Linked DNA regions of Homo sapiens: region 1 is linked to region 2. The links are contacts of gene promoters, found by promoter capture Hi-C in blood cells and fetal thymus (Javierre and others, 2016). All regions are on one chromosome and are shown on one strand. Each heading gives the region's core, a stretch centred on a gene start or on the middle of the fragment in contact. The rest is flanking DNA. Distances are from core to core; before and after follow the strand shown. Region 1 overlaps ZNRD2-DT (ZNRD2 divergent transcript). Region 2 holds the start of SLC25A45 (solute carrier family 25 member 45).

Region 1 (4,862 bases), core at 506-3,005, 180 kb after region 2:
TTTGGGAGGCCGAGGTGGATGGATCACAAGGTCAGGAGATTGAGACCATCCTGGCCAACATGGTGAAACCCCATTTCTACTAAAAATGCAAAAATTAGCCAGACGTGGTGGTGCGCGTCTTAGTCCTCAGGAGGCTGAGGCAGGAGAATTGCTTGAACCCAGGAAGCAGAGGTTGCAGTGAGCCGAGATTGCGCCACTGCACTCCAGCCTGGCAACAGAGCAAGACCCCGTTCCCCCCCACCAAAAAAAAAAAAAAAAATTAACAGGGAAGTCCGGGTGTGGTAGCTCACACCTGTAATCCCAGCACTTTGGGAGGCCGAGGTGGGTGGATCACTTGAGGTCAGGAGTTCGAGACTAGCCTGGCCAACATGGTGAAACTCCATCTGCCAAAAATACAAAAATTGGCTGGATGTGGTGGTACACGCCTGTAATCCCAGCTACTCAGGAGGTAGAGGTTGCAGTGAACCGAGATCGTGCCACTGCACTCCAGCCTGGGCGACAGAATGAGACTCTGTCTCAAAAATAAAAATAAAAATAAAAATAAGCAGGGAATCAGTGGGCTGATATTTATGAAGCCCTTAGCAGATGCCTGCCAAATAGTAAGCACTCAGGATATGTGAGACCTTTTCATCATTGTCTGGATCTGCAAGCCAAGATGGGCAGGGTGGTGAGAGACGGGCTGCTGGTGGAGAGCCACCGTGCCACGAGGGCTGACTGTGTGTCAGAGGCTGTGCCGCCTCCATGTGTTGTCCCTCTGAGTTCTGAATGTCTTTGGGAAGCTTCTGGGCTCTGAAGAAAGAAATGGCTCTTGGCGAGGGGGTGGGTGGGTAGAAGGGAAGGGGGTCACACTCATCAGTTTTATTTTTTTTTTGAGACAGAGTCTCACTCTGTTGCCAGGCTGGAGTGCAGTGGCACAATCTCAGCTCACTGCAGCCTCCACTTCCTGGGTTCAATCGATTCTTGTGTCACGGCTTCCTGAGTAGCTGGGATTACAGGCAGCCACCACCACCACTCCCAACTGATTTTTGTATTTTTAGTAGAGATGAGGTTTCACCATGTTGGTCAGGCTGATCTCGAACTCCTGGCCTCAGGTGATCTGCCCGCCTCGGCCTCCCAAAGTGTGGGATTACAGGCATGAACCACTGCGCCCGGCCTTGCTCATCAGCTTTAAAGATGAGGGATGGAAGTGATGAAGGCCTGGAGGGGACAAGGTTGCCCTAAAGCATTTCTCTCCAAAGACACTTTACTGAAAGTGGCTATTAAACCCCTCTAATGTGCCACTTACTGTGGGTAGTAAAACGATGGACACTGAGAGTTGGGATTGGAAATGAGATGAAACTACCTTCACGCTTGATAAATCAGGGGGCCCTTCTGCCCTGCCACTCTTCCCCGCCTTTTGAGCACGGGAGAAATCTACTGGTAAGAGCTCAGGCTCAAGAGGTACACTGGCTGCCAGCCGGGAGCCCCAGCCCTGCCACTCCCAACTGGGTGACTGTGGATACATCTCTCACTACTCCAGGCCTCAGCCTCCTCATTTGCAAATTGGGAATGATGATAAGACCTAGCTGCCAGTGTTGTCCTAAGGAATAAGCGAAATACTTCATAAAGAGCTCTTAACACAGTGCCTGGCCCAAAGAAAACACACACACCAAGTTGAGTGTGATTATTTTTATTGTTGTATCATCCAGCCACTTCCTGTTTCACAGAAATGTCAAGGTGATTCACATTGCAGTGAAAACCAAAAAAAAAAAAAAAAAAAAAAGAATAGCTGACCCCTTTTCAGTGCCTGTGTGAAAATACAAATGATAAGTTACGTTTTTCAGAGGCCAGGCAACATGGCATAGGCCACTTGTTGCCATGTGAACCATCCCCACCAAATCAGCCAGCCCAGGGGGAGCTGTAATTGAGCTGTGCATGACTGAGCTGCTGTGGGGTGCTCTATCACCCAGAAAAGAGCCTAACTACAGCCATGTCATCAGTGCCACAAGGAGGGACCAATTTGGACTGGCTCACATGAAACTGTGATTCCCTTCCCTCCCCCTCCCCCTCCTCCTTTCCCTCCTTTCTCTTCCCTGACTCCATGCTCTGTTGCCCAGGCTGGAGTGCAGTGGCAGGATCTCCACTCACTGCAACCTCCGCCTCCCAGTTCAAGCAATTCCCGTCTCAGCCTCATGAGTAGCTGGAACTACAGGCTCGCACCACCATGCCCAGCTAGTTTTTGTATTTTTAGTAGAGATGGGGTTTCACTATGTTGGCCAGGCTGGTCTCGAACTCCTGACCTCAAGTGATCTGCCAGTCTTGACCTCCCAAAGTGCTGGGATTAAAGTTGTGAGCCACCATGCCTGGCTGAAGGTGTGATATATTGTCGGCAAGGGAAGGGTGTGAAAGAGCCCAAGCCCATTGCTCCACAGACACTGGCCTGTCCACTGTGACTGCTGCGAATAGGTTTTACCACCAACACCTGTGAGCACCTTCTATGTCAAGGACTGTGAAGCATCTGAGATCTTACCCACTTGCAAGCTACCAAGGTAGCCCGTCAGGTTCAAGAATGCTGGCAGAATACAGGAGAGTCCTGGGTCAGAGACAAAGGACTTGATCGCTGTGCAGCAAACAGCATGAGCACCAGCATATTTCCGTTAGTTCCTTTTGACCCTAAGTCCCATGGGGGTGATGCTGATGGGCTCAGGCAAGTGTGGGCACACAGAGCGAATTACATTGTGGGAGAGGACCCTAAGCTTAGGAAACTCAAAGCCAGTAAGCATGGCTGTCCTTTGCTCTGGAGGGAGACACTATCTCCATCTTCCATAGCTGTTCCCTAGATAAACATCTTTGAAGCTGGCGCGGTGGCTCAGGCCTGTAATCCTACCACTTTGGGAGGCTGAGGTGGGCAGATCACCTGAAGTCGGGAGCTTGAGACTAGTCTGGCCAACATGGTGAAACACCGTCTCTACTAGAAATAAAAATTTAAAAAATTGGCTGGGCGCGGTGGCTCATGCCTATAATCCCAGCACTTTGGGAGGCCGAGACGGGCAGATCACGAGGTCAGGAGATCGAGACCATCGTGGCTAACACAGTGAAATCCTGTCTCTACTAAAAATGCAAAAAAAATTAATCGGGCGTGGTGGCAGGTGCCTGTAGTCCCAGCTACTTGGGAGGCTGAGGCAGGAGAATGGCGTGAATCCAGGAGGCAGAGCTTGCAGTGAGCCGAGATCGCACCATTGCACTCCAGCCTGGGCAACAGAGCAAGATGCCGTCTCAAAAAAAAAAAAAAAATTAGCCAGCTGTGGTGGCGCATGCCTGTAATCCCACTCCAGTGGGTGAGGCACAAGAATTGCTTGAACCTGGAAGGTGGAGGTGGCAGTGAGCCGAGAATTGCGCCACTTCACTCCAGGTTGGGTGACAGAGACTCCATCTCAAAAAACAAACAAGCAACAAATAGGCATAAGTGGCCCCATTTTTATTTTGAGTCAGGGTCTCGCTCTGTCACCCAGGTTGCAATGCAGAAGCCTGATCATGGCCCACTGCAGCCTGGATCTCCTGGGCTGGGAGCAATCCTCCCACTCAGCCTCCTGAGTAGCTGGGACTACAAGTGCATGCTACTGCACCAGCTAATTTAAAAAATACATATATTTCTTAGAGATGGGTTCTTACTATGCTGTCCAGGCTGGTCTCAAGCAATCCTCCTGCATGTCCTCCCAGAGTGCTGAGATTATAGGTGTGAGCCACAGCACCTGGTCTACTGGCCCTGTTTTACAGATGAGAAATTGAAGTCCACAGCGATGAAGTAAACTACTCCAGGTGATACAGTAAATAGATCCAGGATCAAACCCAGGCCTGCCTCATTCCAGTTCTGCGTCTTGTCCACCCTACAGTGGAACTTAAGATGGTGAGAGGCCCTGAGAGGAGAAAAGGGACAAGAGTCCTCTTGAGCAGTGGGAGAAGAGGGATGCAGGAAGGATGGGAGATGTGTGTGCATCTCTCTATGTGTTGTCTGGATTTGGGGGGTCAAGGACCAGATTTATAGGACCTTGGAGACCATAACAAGGACTTTGGATTTTTGTCTAAGTGTGATGGGAGATGCCAAATGGCTTTTTTTTTTTTTAGATAGAGTCTCACTCTGTTGCCCAGGCTGGAGTGCAGTGGTGTGATCTCGGCTCACTGCAACTTCTGCCTCCCGGTTCAAGCAATTCTCCTGGTTCAGCCTCCCGAGTAGCTGGGATTACGGGCGCCCGCCACCACACCTGGCTAATTTTTGTATTTTTAGTAGAGAAGGGGTTTCACTATGTTGGCCAGGCTGGTCTTGAACTCCTGATCTCAAGACATCTGCCCGCCTCGGCCTCCCAATGTGCTGGGGTTACAGGCGTGAGCCACAGTATCGGGCAGCCAGATGGTTTTTAGTACAAGAACGACACTGTATTTTAAAATAATTATTCAGTTTCCTGCTTATGTGGGGATATGTAAGGTTGTCATGAGGAGTAAATTGGAGAGATTAAGTGAGAGGACTCATGTAAGGCTCTTTGTAGGTGCGAGGCAGAATAGACAGTTGAGTGGATATTGGCCATGATGGTGACATAGTCGGCGCACTGAGGAATTCAGGGTAGGGCTGGGAGCTGGAGACGGTAATAACCTGGGGGTCTGTGCATACAGGCTGGAGTCCAAGAGATGGTTCAGAGACAGTTCCTCTAGTCAGCCTCAGGCTAGGTGCTGTGGCTCTTCGCTGTAATCCCAGCACTTTGGGAGGCTGAGGTGTGAGGATCACTTGAGTCCAGGAGTTGGAGACCAGCCTGGGCAACATGACGAAACCCCATCTCTACAAAAAATACAAACCAAACCAAACAAACACACAAAAAACGGTGGCTCTA
Region 2 (5,023 bases), core at 2,182-4,681:
CCCAGAGGCCTGCAGCCTGGAAGGCCATAGCACAGGCCTCTTGTTCCCCTCCAAGAGGCCTATGCCTCCACAGCTGTGGGTCGCCAGGGCAGGGTGGGAGAGGACAGATCGAGATGACCATCCCTATGACACCTGTGTGTGCCCACTCACTGCCCCCTCACCTGCAGGAACCCCCCGGTGCAGCCCGCTAGGAAGATGTGCATGTAGCTGGGCGGCTGGGCCCGCCGCTCCTGGTGGGAGGTGGCCGTGAGCACCAGCAGGGTGTTGCTATAGACCCCAAACAGGACAGAGTTGACCACAGCTATGCTGGCAATGGGGAAGCTCATTCCCTTGAAGAAGCCCAGGAGCTGCAGAGAGACACAGTGGCAGCGGAGTAGGCACCGTGGGGCCTCCCCTTTGTCCTCTCCACCCCTGGCAAGGCAGCCTCTGGCTGGAAACTGCTCCCAAGTCCTGCCACAGGGAAGTGGGGACAGGCAGGGATGGGCTGAGGCTGCGCCTCTGGGGTGCTAAGCTACCACCCAGGCCCCCCAAGGATCCCAGACTTGGTCTTCTCTCCTCCAGGAGCAGAACCCTGCTGGAGAGGGAAGCTGGTACCAACAGCCCCAGATGCCTCCCCGAAAGGGGAAGGACCCCAAAGGAGTGGGCCACTCACGGACTCATGGCGGTAAATCTTGACCATGCAATCAACGATGCCCCGGTAGGTGGTCTGGGTCTGCAGCCTCACCTGGGTGGGAGGACAGAGCAGGTAGGGTGGCGGGATGGGCAGGTGGGCCAACCTTTCCCTCTGCCCCCTCAAGCGGGATGCCAACCAGCAGGAGAGGCAGGAAAGGCAAGATTAGCCAGGCCTGATCTCAGGGCACCCTGACATTTGGGTCAGGTGAGATCTTTCATTCCTCTGGCAGCTCTCCTAAACTCACCTTTACAGTGTCAAACGGGTGTCCCAGGACCAAGCCCAGAGCGCCTGTGGTGACAAGAGGGTGCTATGAGTGAGGGCCCTCGTGCCAGGCCCAGGAAGCAAGTCTGTGCCAAGAGGAAAGAGGGGTTCAGGCAGGAGGAAGGAGAGCAGGGCCATCTCAGACACATGCAGCCACCTTCCTGCCAAGCTCTAGAGACTCCAGCTGCCCCTGCCACCCCCTCCACACAGGCACTGGGCCAGGAAGGCACTGGGACAAGGGACTAAGACCCCAGGCCCCACCTGAGGATGCACACCCAAGAGGGAAGAGCCAGCCAAAGACGTACGTGTCCTCGCTGGAGCCCATACCCGGGTATCCCACCGCCTATGAGCCGCGGGACTCTGGGAGAATCACCCAGGTTCCCACCTCTCCGAGAGCTTTACTCTTCTTTCTTCAACTCATAATGTCGTCGCCGGGATCCAGAGCAGGCCCTGCTGCCAGCTGGCCACGCAGAACTGCAGGGCCCTGATGGGGGTCATGCCTGGGCACCTGCAGAGGAGCTTCTCCCCTCCCCTCCACCTGCCCACTGCCTAGCCCTGCCCTCCACAGCAGAGGCTGGTTCTGGAGTTTGGGGGAGGTCGCACCCCCAGGAGGCAGGTTCAGAACGTCCCTCTCTTTCTCCTAAGAGGAATGCCACCCAGAAGCTGGGCTGGGACCACAGCACAACAGGCCTCAGGGCCCGGGACTGCGGCCCACAGCCAGGTGGGGCAGAGGCCCAGAGGGGACTCAGGACAGCAGGTGAGGTCAAAGGTGAACTTCCTTTGTAAGCCCAACAGGGTGGGCCTGGAGAGCAGGGCTCAAGGTATAGGGTGCTCACCTGGCTCTCCCGCCCTCTGCAGGTGTCAGGCAGAGTGGCCTTGGAAGGCAGAGGCAGCACCCTCCCACCTGTGCCTTCCTCTCTTCTTCCCATCGGCCACTCCCCAGAGGACTGGGGACAGCTGGCTCTGGGGTGCTCCACGGAACCCAGACTTTTTTTTTTTGACACAGGGTCTTGCTGGTGTTGTCCAGGCTGGAGTGCAGTGGCATGATCATGGCTCATTGCAGCTTCAACCTCCTGAGCTTAAGGGCTCCTTCCACCTCAGCCTCTGGAGTAGTTGGGACCACAGGCGTGCGCCACCGCGCCTGGCTAATTTTTGTATTTTTAGTAGAGACGGGGTTTCACCATGTTGGCCAGCCTGGTCTCGAAATCTTGACCTCATGATCCACCTACCTCAGCCTCCCAAAGTGCTGGGCTTACAGGCATGAGCCACCGCGCCCAGCCTCTCATTTCTTATAAAGACAGGGTCTTCCTATGTTGCCCAGGCTGGTCTCAAACTCCTGGCCCCAAGTGATCCTCCTACCTCAGCCTCGCAAAGTGCTGGGATTACAGGTGTGAGCCACCATGCCCTGATTCTTTTTTTTTTTTTTTTTTTTTTTTTGTGGCAGGGTCTCATTCTGTCACCCAGGCTGGAGTGCAGTGGTGCAGTCATAGCTCACTGCAGCCTTGAACTCCTGAGCTCAAGCAATCCTCCTAAGTAGCTGGGACTACAGGTGTGAGCCACCATGCCCAGCTAATTATTTTGATTTTTTTGTAGAGACAGGGGCCTCCCTATGTTGCCCAGACTGGTCTCAAACTCCTGGGCTCAAGTGATCCTCCCGCCAGGCCGGAACTCAGACTTTGGTCTCTGCTCCTCCCATGTCACCCATCTTCCCGAGGAAGTGACCTACCATTGGGTGTGATGTGACAGAAGGAAGAAAAATGTCTCACCAGAGATCCAGCCAGCCACAAATTCCTCCACCGGCATTGTCTGGGCTTGCGGGAACTGGTGGCTCCAGCAGAGGAGACAGAGTTGAATTCCCCCCTCTCCCTCCCCTGGCCCACGCTGATAACCTCCCACTAATGTTTAACCCTGGCGGGAAGGTGAGAATTGGCCTGGTGCCCAGACCTCCGGCAACTGGCAGAGGAGAGCGAGCCAGTTCCGGTGACCCTGGCCACCTGGAGGAGTCGTGCAGAGTACAGTCTCACGGGCCAGGCGTGCCGGGACCACAGAGGCCCTGATCCCCGAGCCCGGCCAATGATCCTCGCTCTGAGGATGGCAACTGGGTTCCTGCCCCATGGTCGGGCCCCTCCAGGGCTGCCTTAGTCAGCAAGAGGCAAGCCCCTGCCTGCCCAGCCAGCCCAGCTCCACTCCCATTCATCTCCACCAAGGGGCATGGCCGCCCCCATGCCACAGAGAGAGGCCGGGTGCGGAGGTAGCGTGGCCACCAGGGGGTAGGCCCAGCCCGCATTTGCCGCTGCGTGGCAGGGTGGGGAGGAGCCACTCCCAGGAGTGACTCACCAGGCCTGGCTGTTCTCTTCAGGGTTGTTTACGACTCCCCCGACTCCCCCGTGTGAGTCAGAAACACAGCCTTCCTCGGCTTCCTCCTTCCCAGGGGAAAGATAGGGGTTTTGATTATTTAAAGTGCGTGTTGATCTGCAATGGCACCATTCTGCTCAGTCAAAACCAAAACCCTTTCAAGGATCTGTGAGCCACAGGGTGCCGCCCATTCTCCTCTGACCTCACGTCCTGCCACCCACCCCCTTGCTTTCTCTGCTGCAGCCACCCGAGCCTCCAGACTCTTCTTCAGTCAGCCTTCTGTCTCCAGGCCTGTGGACTGGCTCTTCCCTCTTCCTGGGCACTCTTGCCCTGGCACCCCTCCAGCTGGGGCTCAAATGTCACCACCTGGGTGAGGTCTGCCCCGCCTCCCCAGCCGGAGGCACTGCTGGCTCTTCCTCTCTTTCTCCATCACAGTTATCACGCCAACATACGATGGGAAGAACTTGTCTGTCTGGACAGGGATCTCTGGGTGTTCTGTGCACAGCGGGTGGCACAGGGTGGGCTCTCAATAAATCCTGAGTGACTGAATGAACGGAAATGTCAGCCAGCAGCATCAGCGGCAGCCTGGGGCTCCAGTTCCCTCTTCCCATCACCAAACGGCCCTGGGAAACATCAAGGCCCAGTGACACCTGCACCCTCCCCTCCAGATCTCCCCGCAGCTCCTAGTCTCCCATGGGGGACGCCCAAGGCCCAGTCCTTCTCTCCCTTCTCCTCTCACTGTGGCCAAGGCAGAACCCACCCACCCCTGCTGCTTTCTCCCGGGTGGACAGATTCGGGAAACAGGACCTCCTACCTCCTGCCTCTGGAGCTGCCTGGGGCTCCTTGGGCCACCCCCAAAGATCATCCTAAAAGACCATCCCCAAAGACTGGCCTCTCGTGGTGGCTTGGGCTGCAGTCCTGGTTCTGCTTCTTATTCCTGAAACTGCCTTTGCAAAAACTATAACTGATACAGGCCAGGCGCAGTGGCTCACGCCTGTAATCCCAGCACTTTGGGAGGCCGAGGCGGAAGGACCACCTGAGGTCAGGAGTTCGAGACCAGCCTGACCAACATAGTGAAACCCCATCTCTACCAAAAATACAAAAATTAGCCGGGTGTGATGACGGGCGCCTGTAGTCCCAGCTACTTGGGATGCTGAGGCAGGAGAATCGCTTGAACCCGAGAGGCAGCTGTTGCAGTGAGCCAAGATCATGCCACTATACTCCAGCCTGGGCAACAGAGCGAGACTCCGTCTCAAAAAAAAAAAACAAACAAACAAACAAAAAAAAAACCCTCCTGTCTCTCGTACAGCCAGCTCTGCATGAATTAAACTCTCCTTATTGCAATTCCCCTGTCTTGACAAATTGGCTCTGTCTAGGCAGAGGGTAAGGTGAACCCAATGGGCGGTTACATTATCTCTCTCAGTGATGTTGAGCAACCTCTTCTGTGGGCCTTGGGGTCTATTATTGTTTGCCAAAGTAGGACAGCAGTCGGGCTAATTGATGTCTAAGCCTCTCAGCTCTAAAGGCTGGAGGCCGCCTCCTCCCTCACTTCAGAATGGGTCTCATTCTCTTTTCCAATCTCACCGCCTCACCCCAGTTTGAGAAAGACCCTCATTCCCACTTCCCTACAGCCTTGCTGAAGGGAAGCCCACCTAAGCATGGCGTCATCTTGTGAATCTCTAGCTCACAACCTCCAAAATGTTCTTACTGTCTAACACGCCTGCCCCATATCTG

Evidence for each region. The method cuts DNA at HindIII sites, captures the fragments that hold promoters and counts their contacts. A CHiCAGO score of 5 or more calls a contact.
Region 1: a fragment that was not itself captured here is called in contact with the fragment with the promoter of SLC25A45 in region 2 in 1 of 17 cell types (neutrophils); the score reaches 5.3 in neutrophils.

The regions. Positions count from the first base shown.
Region 1 is chr11:65,564,380-65,569,241 of GRCh38, forward strand. It overlaps ZNRD2-DT (ZNRD2 divergent transcript), which reads right to left. Exons shown (of 1, transcript NR_038923.1): 1 at 4,841-4,862. Among named protein-coding and RNA genes, the nearest start is that of ZNRD2-DT, 3.6 kb to the right of the region's middle. The HindIII fragment of the contact is 1,956 bases long and covers 778-2,733 here.
Region 2 is chr11:65,379,215-65,384,237 of GRCh38, forward strand. It overlaps SLC25A45 (solute carrier family 25 member 45), which reads right to left and starts at 3,432. Exons shown (of 7, transcript NM_182556.4): 1 at 3,272-3,432; 2 at 2,701-2,755; 3 at 918-961; 4 at 653-724; 5 at 162-347. The coding sequence starts at 2,737. It also overlaps a transcript of FRMD8 not described here. RefSeq lists enhancers at 2,541-3,069, 2,618-2,747, 2,735-3,934, 2,878-3,157, 3,070-3,597 and 4 more and a silencer at 4,564-4,858. The HindIII fragment of the contact is 16,084 bases long and covers 1-5,023 here.